Regions from separate parts of the Homo sapiens genome. Here region 2 is linked to region 1. The links are contacts of gene promoters, found by promoter capture Hi-C in human tissues and cell types (Jung and others, 2019). All regions are on one chromosome and are shown on one strand. Each heading gives the region's core, a stretch centred on a gene start or on the middle of the fragment in contact. The rest is flanking DNA. Distances are from core to core; before and after follow the strand shown.

Region 1 (7,896 bases), core at 2,401-4,900:
CACCAGACCAGACAGGAGGTCACCAAAGGGCTTTTAGTTATCGAAGTTTTTTCTACAAAGAAATCCATAAGTCCAATGCACAAAACAGATAGGGTAGAGCTGCCCAATTTGGTTGCCAGGTAGGCAGCCTGCTTTTTAGCCACTGAGTCCCCCGTCTCCACCCCCTGTTCCCAGGACATCTCTGTAGAACTCAGAGGACTCAGACTGTCCAGCCTCTGGGTAGGTAAGTCCTGCAGTCTTTTATTTTTTAATGAATTGCTTGCCTAAACTGAAAATCAGGATATTTTACCAAAAAAAAGAAAGTCAACTTTCTTTTGAATAATTGGAGCTGTGGGCTGTGCAGTCTTTTATTTTTTAATGAATTGCTTGCCTAACCTGAAAATCAGGATATTTTACCAAAAAAAAAAAAGTCAACGTTCTTTTGAGTAATTGGAGCTGTGGGCTCCTGGAAACAGCAATTGATGAGAGAGCTGAAAAACAGTCTTCTTCAGTGGGTCACTTTCTTTTTGCCACAGTCCACGTGTGGCTAACGTCCTGAATTCTCATTATCCATCTGACTTTACAGTTACTCCGGCCTAGTGAGGTCCACTGTAAAATCCCTGGGATATATATATGGCCTCTTGGGGATGTTCCAGCTCAAGACATTCTGCAGCTGTAGAAAAATTATTACTATATTAAATTAAGTTGTTACTAAATTACAAATTCCTATTAATTCCCATTTTAGTAAGGAGAAGTCACTGTTTTAGTCATTCTGTTCTCAAGCTATAGCTCTTATATTTGCTTAGTCAGAAACCATGTTGGCAGTATAATAAAATGAATTAGAATGTGGTTGATTGTCTTCTGCTGGTAGTTCTCATCCCTGTCCAGGCACCTCCTCCCTTGCCCCTGCCCTCAATCCACCCCTAGCACTGAGAGGTTGCTGAGAGCAAGAACCCCTTCCTCCTCCTCCTGAGAACCTTACAGCCCAGCTCCACCATCAGGCACATGCTGATGTCTTCCTAGAAGCCTCCCCACCCTGGTTAATTTGTTTCAAATATCTTAGGTTTTTATGCTCCATTTACTCGAGTTAATCTGCAAATACTTACCTACTCTGTGAATGTTCTAGGATATAATATTAGATACATCATCACTTCGGCCCTGGGGACAGATCCTTCATCCTGTTGTTTAGTGGTGTCCTAATCACCAGGAGGAGCTAAAGAGTTGTTTTCTAAGCTGGTATCTCAGATACCTTTCACACTTCCTCTGATTTCCAAGTTAGATGGTAACAATGAATGATGCACAGATATAATACATACACAATCTAAAATACTCCAAGTAAATATAGGAGCATTCGATTTCAAAATTCAGCATAAAGAATAAGTTTCCAGGTTGAGAGAACTCCTCCAGCATCACTGCCTGGGGTGGCTCCAGGCACGTTCTTTACCTGTCTTGAAGGTCGAGTTGTCTTTAAAGAAAGACATTTACTACAACGGCTTTGAAATTCCATGAAATTATTCAAAATGCAGAACAAGGTCAGAACACGTGAAGGGGAGGGTAGATTATGCAGGACAGCCCTGGATTTCTAGACAATAGCTGCATTTCTGACCCCAAAAAGGCAACTAATATGGATATGATTTTGATTTCATCTAAGAGAGGTTCTCAAAGCTACAAATAAGCATTGTAAGGTTTGGGCAAAAAGGAAACTATCAGTAAATTTGAGAAAAGTGGCCAGGCACAGTGGCATGCGCCTGTAATTCCACTACCAGGGAGGCTGTGGCCGGAGGATCCTTTGAGCCCAGGAGTTCCAGGCCAACCTGGACAACATAGTAAGACCACATCTTGAATTATTATATATGTATGAGAAAAGTGGAAATTATAAACTAAAATCAGGATTTGTTCTCATGAAGGTAGTCAAGTTTGGAAAATGTGTAGTGGAGGGGATGTGGTTCTTGCATTAGTCAGCACCGGGAAGATGGTGTCGGGGAACACGCTAAGCCCATATTGTACGTCTGAGTTTTCAGAGCCTTGTCAGCAGAGCTGTACTACCAGATAAATCACGAACAAGAGTGCGTTCAAAACCACAACGCTGCCCTGGAAGGCTTTCCAAAAACTCAACTGATAGGTGATAAAAATTTTTTAAATATGACTTGCGTTATTATGATATTAACTGTGCAAGAAGGGGAAAGGTAGAAAAGACAATCTTGGCGAGTAGATAGATCTGCTGCTCATGGCAGACACTAGGGATGGTACCTGGGTGTTCACTCTGCTCTTCTCTTTACTTTGGTTTTTGCTTTTTAAAAACGAAAGGAGCAAAAAGAAGTGGAAAGTCGTGGAGGCACTCGGCCCAGCCCCCACGTAGTTCAAGGAGACCAGGAGGGAGCTGGCTGGTGGAGGTCCTGCCCACCTGCCACACTCCGTATTTGGGCAAGCCTGTGAGTCACTGTCGGGAACATGGCTCCCTTCGCCAAGGCCAGCACTGACCACTATCCGTGTATCGGTAAACGCAGGGAGTGTGCCACGTGCCTTGACAGTCTAGCGCGACGACTTAAGAAGTCGCGGCTAGGTGCTCTTTTTTCCATTTTTTTACGTCTCTTCCGTAGCCCGGGAATTTGGGAGAGAAGACTACCGTATCCAGTTAGACGCAGAAATAACACTAAGCAGCTATCAGCTCAAAATCACAGGAAGAGATCCCGCGCGGTCGTCTCAAGCCCCAGCACCAAACGACAGTGGGCGTCCCAGCGGGGGCACCCGAGCGCGGACCTTCACATCCTCCGAGGAACGCCGCACCCGCGTGGCGGGGGTGGGTAGATGGACCTCAGCGAGCCTCGTTTCCCAGTCGTGTTACGCAACAACTTTGCAGCCGTCATCTTCGCCCTAATTGTGCAGGGGGCGGTGTTTGTGCGTGGAGCTTTCCCTCCCGGCTCCGGGCCGTCGCGGCTCTCGGGAGAGGCGCCGGGACATTTTAATCGCTGCCTCCGCCGCGCAGCCCTGCGCAGCTGCCCGGCCGCGCCAACCCCTTCCCCGCCGCAGCGCGCCCCGAGTGTTGGCAGCTTGCCAGCCGCCACCCCCCGCCTTCCCTCCTGCCCACCCCAAGGTAGAGGGCTCCTCTCGGGAGTGTGCGGGGAAGGGGAGGCCGAGGTCCGGGCCACGCCCGGGTAGCCGCAACCCGCAGTGCTCAGTCGGCAACAGGTAGCCCAGCAGGCTGCGGCTCTCAGGAAGACAAAAAGCGCCTCTGCGAGCAAGTGAGGGTCGCGGGGAGCGCAGAGCCACCGCGGCGACCGGGAGGGTGAAGGGAGCCAAGAGCGGACGGGGCGGTGGGACGGGGGGCTCCCGGGCTCCTCCGCAGGCTCGCTCCGGTCGTGTCGGCCGCGTGGGCCGTTGCGCAACACTCGTTGCGCCGGGAATGGGGCGCCAGCCCTCGCGGGCGCTCGGACGGCGGTGGCCCTGGCCGGGGAGGGACGCGAGCTGGTAGTGGCGCCGCCGCGGAGGGGGAGCTGAGGGCGGGGAGGCGGGGCGGGGCCGCGGAGTGCCCGCCCCGGCCCGCCCCTGCCGGCCGCGGCCATTGGCGGCGGGCCGGGGGCGGGTGCGGGCGCGGCGATTGGGGCCGCGGCCGCCAGTCACGCGGGGCTGGCGGGCGGCGACGTAGCGCGGCGCTCGGAACTGACCTACTAACACACATCTCTCCGCGCGGCCACGGCGCCCGCGGACCCGGCGCGCCCGCCCGCCTCCCGCGCCGCGCCCTCGCCGCCGCCCGCCTCCCGCCGCGGCCCCGGAGGCCCGGCCCGGCCCGAGCCCCGAGCGCCGGCGGCCCGACTCCCGGCCGCCCCTTTCTTTCTCCTCGCCGGCCCGAGAGCAGGAACACGGTAAGCGCTCCGCCCACCGCCGGCCGGGGGCCCGGCGACCGCTCCCAGGGCGCGCTGCGGGCGGGCGGGCGGGCGCGGGGTGCGGGCCGCGCTGTGTGCGGGGTCGGGCTGTAAGCTGGGCTCGCCAGCGGCGGCGAGTGCGCGCGGGGCATTCATTACATAAACTTTTGCTGCCTTGTCAGGATGGGACTCGCCACCTTAAGGTGGCTGCTTTGATTGCAGCGCCTTCGCGCCGGCACGTAGTCCTGGCTGGTTTGCGCTCTCCCCCCGCTGCTGTTGCATAATGTCTCCTGATTTCAGGAAAATTGATGTTTTGGTAAAGAAGAGCGCCAGGCAGGCTGAGCCCTCTCCGAGCGGGAAGATGCTCTTTCCTCTCTAGTGTCTTTCTTTCTCGTTCCTTCTCTGGGGCTGGCGGCGTAGGGGGGAGAGGAATGGGGGGTTGAGGAATGGGGAATAGTCTTAATTTGCTTGGTGAGAAAAAGGGTTGGTAGCGTGAACGGTGACGGCATTCGGAGAATGCCTGCGCGGCGTTTGTTTGTGTCAGGGGCTGTGTCTGCACAGACGTTTTCCACCCTGTTTGTCGTCAGCGTGTTTTACAAGCCCTCGGGAAGGTTGTGGGATTTGTCCTTTCATACATTGCATAATCTGCCCACGGTGAAATGTTGGCAAGAATTGCGGGCTGATGTGGGAATATGCGCGTATGTGTGCAATGATTTGGTAATTGAGGCGCAGCGTTGGATATTAGATCGTTATTTACGTCTATATTACGTCCCAAATAAACAGGTTTTAAAACGATACTACAAAACCTAAAAGCAAGAATTGCTCGCATTGAATTCTGATCTTGGGTACTACTGGGGTTCGCCCTTTCAATGTTCTCAGCTGTTATTTTTAAATCTGGGACGAACCATTGTGACGTTTACCTCCCCACCTTCCTAATTTTAATGCATTCCATTCGATCAGCCCTTTTTCTCACCTTATTGTCATTGCTTTTTCAGACACGACAAGACAAATCACATAATAGTTTCCTGGAAATGTTGCATTATGTAACTGCCGAATTTGCTGGCAGTGAGCATAGAGAGAGGGAGCTAATTACGTGATTTTATAATCTTGCTACAAAGAAAGTAGGACAGTCTCAGCCTTTAAGAATGTCACTATAACAGTTTTTTTTTTTTCCTTAAGGATATTTTAAACAGGAAAGTAGACAACCGGGTAAGCATGGAGTTTGCTCATGCTGCCGAATGTGTGTCTTTTGCCCTAAATGAAACGCACGTTCTTCTAAATTTAGCCCTATCACATTTTAACAATTGTGGCCTCGCAGTGCTATTTCTGGTGTTTTCTCCAGGGCTGTGTGCAAATACAAGTTCAAGGCCATTTGCTGTAGTTTTAACTCCACGCCTTCGGAGACCTTTGATAAGATTGTATTTTTAGGAAGGCATTTCGCAGCGCCCGGTGATTTGCTGGATGCTGGCTCCCATTTATGTTTTTAAAGGACACTTTAGGAAACTGCTGTTCTCTGAGAACAGCAGGGAATGGCCAAGTGTCATCTTCTGTTCTTGGCTTTTGTAAATAACAACAGTAAGTGAGGTCAGAAGTATTTATTTACCCCCAGACCAGATATGACCTATGGGAAACAGATATAGGTTAGTAGATTGTTTTTTTGTCTGGATACCCTGGTTTTACTTATGTGAAGATGTGTGAATATGTAATTTACCCAAATATTAAATTTCTTCCTGGACTGTTACATAGTGATTATGTGTGAATATATGTATATGATGGGATGTATATATAACGTAACATTTAAATTAAGTGCAGGGTTTTTTTTTGTGGGAGGTGGGGGGTGGACGTCTCTGGAACAGAGTATATTACCCCAAATAATTGCAGTCGCTTTCCAAGAAGCTAGTTGCTCTAGGCCCCCAGCTTCAGACCCCGACCTACTTTGCGAGCTCGGGTGGGAGTCCCAGGCCTGTAGGGGCCGCGTGGCGCCACCTTCCGATCGCGATCTCCAATGGCGAGTCCGTGCGGCCCCCAGTGCGCCGCTCCCTCCTGCGGGCCGGTGGGGTCTGCGAGAATCCGGGGCTGGGGGCGGGTCTGGTAGTGGCGGGCGGGGACCTCGGGTCGGGACCGAGAAGCGCCTCCGAACGGCAGTTATACTGGGGCTGCTCAGTGGCCTGAGCTCCTCCCTGCCCCCTCCCCACATTCCTTTGTTCTGGCGCGGGGGGTCCTCGCGGCGCCGAGGCCCCGCTGCGCCGCCCACCCGGAGGGAGGAGGGTCTCTGGGAGGCGCCGCGTGGGGGCGCGGCCCGTGGAGCCCGGGCGCTAGGGACCGGCCGGGGCCGGCGTACGGGTGCGCTCTGGGTTCGCCCGGGCCGCGGGAGCCAGGGAGCCAGGGAGCCAGGGACCCCGGCTCCCGCACGGGGCAGACAGGGGCAGCGCGGGCGACCCGGAGCGCCTGCGTCTCCGCGGCCCTCCTTCCAACAGGGCAAATCCAGGGGCCTGACTCCGCGCCTGTTCTGCGGTGAGGTTCAGAAACCTGCAGACACCTTTGTTCCAAGAGTCTTCATTGTATTTCGGAACCAAGCGCGTCTCCATTCTTGAAGTGAAAAAGACCTTAAGAAAAACCTCCAAACGTCCACCGGCCACAGAAATTGGGGGTGGAGGCGCTCCAGTATTGATAGTGATTAAAAGGAAGGCCTCAGCTTGACTTTGGCCAGTTGAGTTGAGCCGATTTTTTTTAACCTTTAATTTATGTGGTCAAAGGCTAGAGGAGAGAGAACACTGATCTCCAGAGTTCAAAATAAAATCTAAACGCCCACATAGACGCTGCTGTCCTACTGTAAAACTACAGTACTTTCATCCTCGCATAAAGACTTCCAAGATTGTACCCATGCAGTAATTCATGGAGACATCACAGATGTTCTCCTGAAGCATATCAACGCAATCTGCTCTTTGTTGAAAACTGACCGAAAACTTGCTTTCTTTGGCATCATACCCTACACCGCTATCCCTAATCAGTTTCCCTCCTGTTACAGGCAGTAGTTAGAGAACAGGTTTCGGTGAGGTACAGATCCTAAGAGCGCAGGCCCTGGGCTCACAAGAACCCTGGGTCCCAGGCCCCAGCTTGTTATCTTCCAACACTGTCCTGATTTCCATCACTCTCCAGGGTAAACTGAGGGAATAAAACCTGTTGACTTAGTTGGTTGTGAGGAGTTCAATAAATGTTTCCTGTGTTATTGATCAGGAACCAGAATCTGTGTGTGTGTGTGTGTGTGTGTGTGTGTGTGTGTGTGTATTTACCTTCATTTTTCTCTTTGTAAATCTCTTCGCAGTAACAGTAAGGATTCGTGTTGGAATTAAGTCTGTAAGATCTTTCTTGAGATACTTTTTTTGTTCTAATAATATATATATTTTTTAATTTGCCATCGTGTTCAATGTTAATTTCAGTTTGAGGGGAATTCCTGACAGGATTGCAGAACCTCAAACTTCCCAAGTCATTGGGTTAATGTTTTGGGGAGCTGCTTGAAGGAATAGAGAGATGAGTCGATTATAGTAGCAGGAATGACGTGACAATTGCCATATTAATAGCTCAGCTTTTTCCAATTCCCTTACACATTCTGTGACTCATTTTCTGTAGCTTGGATGATTTCTCTATCTAAAACTTTGTGGTCTGAGATCAGCAGTGGATGGTGAGACCCCACAGATAAGCTCTCTTGTAGGGGGTATATGTAGCCTGAAAACTAAGGCCAGTCCTGTGAAACTGTTGATATTTGACCCTTTTGACCAAATTTTCATTTGGTTTACCCTTACACTTGCGACATAGGTCAGGGCTTCAGTAAGAGTCACGAGCAGCAAAAACAGCCTGGAACTGATAGGCATCGTTGCCTTTTGATACTGATCATTCTTCAGAAAAGAGATAAAGAGTTAGTATTTACTAAACACATACTCTGCATGTGCCAGGCACAGTGTTGAGGGGCTCTGTTATCATCCACATTTCATAGATGAGGAAATGGAAACTCAGAGAAATGAATTTGCAGCCCAGGTCGCAGAGCCTGAAAACC
Region 2 (7,896 bases), core at 2,644-5,143, 1.1 Mb after region 1:
TAGCTATGAAAGTCCGAGATGACAATAGCATATATAAGGCTGTTTTGCCTACATGAAAAACCTATCATTTAGTGTAGCCACCTTCATCAATTATCTTAGCTAGATACTCTGGATAACTTCCTGCCGCTTCTCCAGCAGTGCTTGTGGCTTCACCTTGTGCTTTTATGTTATAGAGGCAGCTTCTTTTATATTAAACCTCATGAACTAACCTCTGCTAGATTTAAACTTTTCTCATGATGCTTCCTCAACTCTCTTGGCCTCCATAGAATTGAAGAGAGTTAGGTCTCTGTGTGAGACTTTGGCTTAGGGGAATGTTGTGCCTGGTTTGATCTTCTATGCAGACCCCCAAAACTTTGTCCATATCAGCAATGAGGCTGCTTTGCTTTCTCATCATTCATTTGCTCACTAGAGTAGCACTTTTCATATTCTTCAAGAACTTTCTGTTTGCATTCAGAACTTGGCTAACTGGCACAAGAAACATAACCTTCAGCCTATGTTGACTTTAAATGGGCCTTCTTCACTAAGCCTACTTATTTTCTTATTAAAGTGAGATATGTGTGACTCTTCCTTTCATATGAACACTTAGAGGCCATTGTAGTGTTATTAATTGGACTAATTTCAATATTATCGTGTCTCAGGGAATAGGGAGACCTGAGGAGAAGGGAGATGGGAACGGCTGGTTGGTAGAGCAGTCAGAACATATACAACATTTACTGATTAAGTTTACCATCTTATATGGGGGCAATTTGTGGCACTCCAAAGCGATTACAATAGCAACATCAAAGGTGACTGACCACAGATCACCATAACAGATATAATAATAATGAAAAAAGTTTGAAAGTTTGCAAGAATTACCAAAAGGTGACACAGAAACACAAAGCGAGCACATCCTGTTGGAAAAATAGCAATGATAGATTTGTTCAACTCCGGCTTGCCACTAAACTTCAATGTGTAAATACCAAGATATCTGCAAAGTGCAACAAAGTGAAACTCAACAAAATTAAGTATGCCTGTATTACATTTCTCTATATTGTAGACCTAACGATGAAATTATAAACATATTGTTTTATACAACTGCTTTATAAATAAGTTAAGAGAATGGAGGAACAGAAATATGCACTTAAACTGCTTTTCATTATTACATTTATTGGTGCCCTGTGTGTGTGTGTGTATGCATGTGTGAGCACATGTGTGAATTTATGTTACTACCTGGAGTCACTTGCTTTCAGATTGCAGGATTTCCTTTAGGATTTCTTGTAAGGCAGGTCATATAGTTACATATTCCCTAAGTTTTGTTTATCTGAGAATGTTTTTATTTCACAGCGATTTTGGAAACTTACTCTCATTTTCATGTAAGAGTCTCGATTAAAAAGACTTTGTACGTGATGAGTTCCTTATCTTTTTCTGCTTTAAATATTTTTCTTTAAAAAAAAGTTTGAGTGTGAAATCATTACATTTCTCTTACTTGGAGTTTGTTGAGCTTCTTGAATGTGTAGATTCATGTTGTACATCAAATTTCAGAAAATGTTAGCTATTTTTTTAAAATATTTTTACTGCTCCTTTTTCTCTTTCCTTCCTTTCAGGTAATCTCATTAAATGGTCATCTGCTTAAGGGTATCCCACATTTTTCTGAGGCTTTAGTTCTTTTCTTTCGTTCTTTTTATTCTCTGTTCTTTGGATTTTATAGTCTTTATCTATCTATTTTCAAGTTTATTGATTTTTACTTCTGCCAGCTAAACCCTGCTTTTGAGCCACTGTAGTGATTTTTTAAAATTTCAGTTACATTTTTCTATTTTTAAATTTCTATTTTGTTATTTTTTATATTTTCTATCATTGTATTATCTTCTATTTGATGAGACATTATCATTATACTTTTGTTTACTCCTTTGAGAATAATTTCCTTTAATTTTTAAATTATATTTATAATGACTGCTTTGAAATCTTATAGTAAGTCTGTCATTTGGCCCTCTCATGGGAAGTTTCTGTTTCCTGCTTCTTCCTGTATGAGAAAAAATATTTCATATTTTTTGTTGAAAACTGGGAATTTTAGGTAATTCACTGTAGCAACTTTGGATATTTATCATACCACATCTTCTAGGACTTGCTCTTGATGGCTTCTGCTTGTGTATTGTTTAGCAACTTGGTGGAATTATTTTAGTGATGTCTACTGATCTCATTATGTGGAGAATCTGATGTCACTTCTCCAAGAGCACACACAACCGTGGACATGAACGCAGCTGCCCTAGGATGGCAGTCTATGGATGTGGGCTCTTTCTGAATAGCGCTTTCCTTTGTCCCTCTGTCAAGCTGTCTGCCTCTACTGGTTTTGAGCCCAGGTTTACTAATTATCAAGTGATTACTCTTTTTTTTTTTGACAATTCCCTGGAACATAATTTTCTCTATAGCCTGAGTCAATTAAATATTGTCTCTTTTTAGGGATAGTTTTTGAGACCAGTCTTTGAGGTTTGTTCTCAAAGGACAGTAAGGAAAGCTGTGTCATTCTCTGGTTCTCCCTAGTAAATTAACGAGCTTATAGTTTAGCCCATTGCTCTCCTGGAGAGAACAGCCTCCTCTTCATTGCTTGACAACAAAATCACCTTTGGTTTTAAGAGAACACTTAGGCATGAATTTCTCCATATTCTTTTCTAAATAATGTTAGTCTCTTTGTGGAAAGCTTTGGAACTCTGTTCTGTGACCTGCCTCTCCACTTGGGCTAAGTTTCGGAGCCCCTGCTCAGGGATTGAGCCACTTTTCTCAGAGTGGCCACTGCTTTGAGTTGTGTGCTGGACTGTGGTGACAGCCTCTGGTCCTCTTGGATTAACTCTACCAGCAAGAAATGTTTGCTCTGTGACTGAAATGTGCCAAGGATGATCAGGGCCCTAATATTCTTGGCCTGTCATGCTCTTGGCAGAACCTTCACACTCTGGTCTAGGAGTAAGAGGGAAGCCCCAACCCTCTCAGTCATGCTTGCTTGAAATTTAGCCTCTACAGCACAGAGCTGGCGGGGGATGAGTGATGCTGTCAGACTCCCTGTCCAAGGAGGAGACCGCAGCCCTCAACTTGGAGCCTGCAGAAGAGGGAGCCCCATCTCCTTGGCCACGCCGACTTGTGGTGGAATTTCCATTATGCTAAGTTGGAAGATGAATGAGGCAAGAGGTGGGCAAGTCTCAGGAACCACAGGAATCTGCTGTTTCTACTTAAGATTTGGTAGATTTTATTGAATAAATGTGTATTTTCACTTGGTGTTGATCTGAGAACAATTTCCAGAGATTCGAAATAGTTAAAAAACATGTTTTCATTGGTGATAGTTGATTTGATTGGAAGAGCGTTCATGCAGTTCCTCATGCTGTCATTCTAAGTCTTGTTCTGTAAATAAGCATTTTAAAACTGCAAAGAAGAGAGAGAGAGAAAAATCAATAGTTTGACATTTATTTGCTTGTAGCTACAGTTGATTTACTTAGTTGTCTTTATCCCCTTGATCTCTAAAATTCTTCAACAAAAGGCTCTTTTATACCTGAGTACTAAATATAATTAAGAAATTATTGTAATTTATGCTTGGCTTAATAAGCACTTACTAAATGAGAAGCTATCCTCTTAGACAATGCAAATCCACACATGAGTGTAGGTGAAGAGTGACAGGTACATTCTGTAAACAGTGGGAGTGAATAATTTAGCCAGAATCTGCATACTTTGTGGGAACCTGAAGCTGGCAGTTCTTTTTAAGAAATATCAGGCTAAGAATTCTAGAAGAGATAAGCAGAGTTATTAAGAACCTTGTAACAGTTGAAGCTGTGCCACACACATATTTGCATTTCAATGATGTCAGCCCCTGGCTCACATTCCTATTTCATATTCACCTGCCTACATTCTTTTAATACTCTCATATTTTAGTCAAAATCCACTGTGGTCTTTGATTTGGAATTTTTCTTTAGAAATATCTTAATATAAAATACAGACAATATTATAATAATCATCCTTATACCTCCACCCAGAATAATTTGTTTTAGATCTTCATTTTTAAAAAGGGATATTAGCTTATGTATACTTTAAGATGCCTTTGTTTTTGTCTCCACTTCAATTTCCCTCTTCAGAAAAAAGATCAATATCATAAATTTGATATGTGTTCTTTCTATATATACCTCTACATACATACATATGCACAAGTAAGCATGTGCATACACACACATGCATGCACACACACATAGAGGTTTGCTTCAATGTTACCTGTTTATAAATGTGCTTACCAAATTTCTGTCAACAGTCTAATGCCTTCATTTCTTTCTCAGTGAATGAAAATTTAAAGTTAATGCCTGGAATTTGGCATGTGTGACAGGGATATGGTAATTCCACTACTGTGAGCAGAGAAAGTAACAGGCAGACATATTTAGAAGGAAGATATTAAGCCTGGGTTTTTGTGTTTAAAGTGCTTCTGAGGCATTCAGCAGGTTATCTCTGAACATATGCACACATGTAAATCTGGGAAAAGAGCTCTGTCTAAAAAAATCTCAATTTTGGAGACAAAAAATAAGTAATTATGAAAATAATTAGTGTGAAGGAAAACACATATGGGTGAAAACTTTTCTAAACCTCAGAAATGCTTGTACCAAACACCTCTAGCAAATGAAGTATTAATCATAAATCATTTAAAATACTCTATTAGAAAATCAAAATGAACAAGTGAGGTATGGTCTCTATCCCAGCTAATGGTCAACATACACCCCACTGAAGAAGGTAACCATGACAGTAAGACAAGAAATGCCAGCAGAAGAGTAAATATTGCGCGAAAGAGACAATAGCACTATCATTATTCATAGATAATGCAACATTCTATGAGAATAACCACCAAAAAACGAAAAAGTGTTAATCAATAGGATAATTAGTAATCCCAGCTTCTTGGGAGGCTTAGGCAGGAGAATCGCTTGAACCCAGGAAGCGGAGGTTGCAGTGAGCTGAGATCGTGCCACTGCACTCCAGCCTGGGTGACAGAGCAAGACTCCGTCTCAAAAAAAAAAAAAAAAAAAAAAAGAAAAAAAGAAATATGCAACATCCCAGTTTCTTGTAACTCAAGAGCAACACGTTTGAAAATTGACAATGTGACAAATGAACCATATTTAAAATAGAACAAAATGTCTAAAGTACCTAGAAATATGCTTAACCATAAATTTTAAAAATTGTAGGGAGCAAATTATGAAATTACACGGAAAGACAGAAAATATGATTTAAATAAATCTAGAGGCATAAGCATACCCTTGTTTTGGGAGGTGACAGTTCTCCTCAAATTGTCTTACTAAGTCAATTAAGTATAATTCCAATAAAAGTCCCAACAGATTTTATTCATGGATCTTAGAAAACTTTTCAGAAAATTAACAAAGTAAGGAAATGTACACACTTTTATTTAAAACAATTTTATAAAAGTAATCAAGAAGGCAAGTATATTTGCTTTTTTAGATAGCAAAATGTACTGAAAACAATTGTAAGTAGACCAGTGTGGGTATTGGTGACAACACTTTACAAATAGAGAACAGAGTAGCTGGGACTACAGGCGCCCGCCACCACGCCTGGCTAGTTTTTTGTATTTTTAGTAGAGATGGGGTTTCACTGTGTTAGCCAGGATGGTCTCGATCTCCTGACCTCGTGATCTGCCCGCCTTGGCCTCCCAAAGTGCTGGGATTACAGGCGTGAGCCACCGCGCCTGGCTACAAATTCTTAAAAGGAAAATTGTTCTTGCTTTGATAACAGTGTGTGGAAATGCCTTTTCCAATTAGCAATGCTTTCGGGAACAACAAACAACACATGATTAGGAAGCTTACTGACAGAACATTTCTTTGTTTTTGAATCAATATGTTTTTTGCACTTTCTCATGTAATGCAAGTGTAGTACACCTCTCTTTATTTTCTTTTTTTAAAAAAAAGAAAAATATGGTTTTTTTAATTAGAAAGATTACCTTCAAATGTTACCATTTTAACACAATATTTGTCCCCACATTCTTCATTCTTTTATCTATACGGATGTTTTTCTAGATACTTGAAAGGAAAATAATTGGGAATGTAGAAACAATGCAAACAGTCTGCGGATAATGACCCACAGAGAATATTAATAAACTAGATAGCATCATGAAATGTAATTTCCAGCAATAATATGATGATCATGTAAACTATAAAAATAATATCATGTTCTAAAATGGTATGATAAATTTTGAGTAGAAAAGCATAAATAGGATAGCAATAAAGTGGATATCATGACATCTTATTGGGAATATGAAAATTATTCTATTGCTTAACTTAATTGCATTTTGGTGGTGTGCCAGGAAAAGCTGAGTTTCTGTAAACATGCCTGGGCTAATATGAGTTCAGGCTGCTTTCACTGCATTCAGCACTGTAGCATAAGGGCACTAGATAGCCTTGCCCCCACAGGCGTTGAAGGAGGCTTGTCTATCTGTCTGTTACAACATCTCTTTCATCTATAGACACATGGTCTTCGTAAATTTTCCCCAGGAGAGTTCAGTATTAATGCACTTGGGCCACTCTATTTCCACAAGGTCATGTAAATTATTTAAAAAAGAAAAAGGTGGGAACGGGATGGTCTTGGGCAGCTGATTAGCATCTTATGCATAATGAAGAATTTTGCATGTTTGCGGCCAGGCACAGTGGCTCACACCTGTAATCTCAGCACTTTGGGAGGCCGAAGTGGGTGGATTATGAGGTCAGGAGTTCAAGACCAGCCTGGCCAAGATGGTGATACCCTGTCTCTACTAAATATACAAAAATTAGCCAGGCGTGGTGGCAGGCACCTGTAATCCCAGCTACTCAGGAGGCTAAGGCAGAGAATTGCTTGAATCTGGGAGGCAGAGGTTGCAGTAAGCCAAGATTGCGCCACTGCATTCCAGCCTGGGCGACAGAGCGAGACTCTGTCTCAAGAAAAAAAAAAAATTGATTAAATAGGATACTGAGTATCTTAATATAATGTCCAAAATGTGAAATATATAATACAACAAACACTCATAATACCAAGAACTAGGAAAATCAGAACATGATCAAGAAAAGACAGCCTTACAAAAACAACACTGATATGAATTAGAAGCTGAAATTATCTGAAAATGATTTTAAAGCCACCATTATAAAAATGATTTCATAAGCAAATATGACTTCTGAAACAATTTGAAAAGTAGGAAATTTCAGCAAAGAAATAAAAACTAAAGAGAAGATCCAGTTGGAAAGTATAGAACTGAAAAATTCAATCACCAAAACAAAATAACCAAACAAAAGCTCACTGAATAATTTTAATATAAGGTGGAGAGATGACAGAAGATAGAATCAGTGAACATGAGAACAGATGAATAGAATTTGCCCAATTTAAACAATAGAAAAAAAACTGAAAAAAATTATAAAGTATCAAGTACCTGAAGTACTATAATGAAAAAGCTAACCTTTGTATTATCAGAGACCCAGAAGGAGAGAAAAAAGAATGAGATTGAAAAACTTCATCCTAAAAAGTAATGGCTATAATTTCCCCAAATTTGAAGACATAAAGTAGTAGATTCAAGAGGCAAATACACCACAATGGATATACCCAAAGAATCACATAAAAAGACATCATCAAGATGCTGAAAATTAAAGGCAAAAAGAAAATCTTAGAAGTAATCAGAGAAGTAACATATTACCTATATGGGTATGCCAATTCAAATGTCAGTAAACTCATTTGAAATTTGGATGCCAGAAGAAAATGGCACATTTTTCAAGTCCTGAAGGACAGGGAGTGTCAACTGTGAATTCTATATCTGGTTAAAGTATACTTACTTCAGGAATAAAATAAAAATAAACACATTGTCAGATGAAAAAAACTAAGAGAGGTTGTTGCTGGCCAACCTACCTGTAAAGAATGGCTAGAAAAAAAATC

What was found. The method cuts DNA at HindIII sites, captures the fragments that hold promoters and counts their contacts. A contact is called where the count stands out against the background at its distance.
Region 2: a contact is called between a fragment that was not itself captured here and the fragment with the promoter of NFIL3 in region 1, in 1 of the 25 tissues and cell types used here (dorsolateral prefrontal cortex).

What each region holds. Positions count from the first base shown.
Region 1 is chr9:91,419,586-91,427,481 of GRCh38, reverse strand. It overlaps NFIL3 (nuclear factor, interleukin 3 regulated), which reads left to right and starts at 3,650. Exons shown (of 2, transcript NM_005384.3): 1 at 3,650-3,842. It overlaps LOC105376146 (synapsin-1), which reads right to left and starts at 3,449. Exons shown (of 2, transcript NR_188612.1): 1 at 1,086-3,449; 2 at 1-652. It overlaps LOC124902209 (a long non-coding RNA gene), which reads right to left and starts at 5,860. Exons shown (of 2, transcript XR_007061661.1): 1 at 5,778-5,860; 2 at 5,423-5,463. RefSeq lists silencers at 806-1,002, 3,313-3,712. The HindIII fragment of the contact is 26,857 bases long and covers 1-7,896 here.
Region 2 is chr9:90,364,304-90,372,199 of GRCh38, reverse strand. All of the region lies in intron 2 of LINC01508 (long intergenic non-protein coding RNA 1508), which reads left to right. Among named protein-coding and RNA genes, the nearest start is that of LINC01508, 65 kb to the left of the region's middle. The HindIII fragment of the contact is 6,140 bases long and covers 824-6,963 here.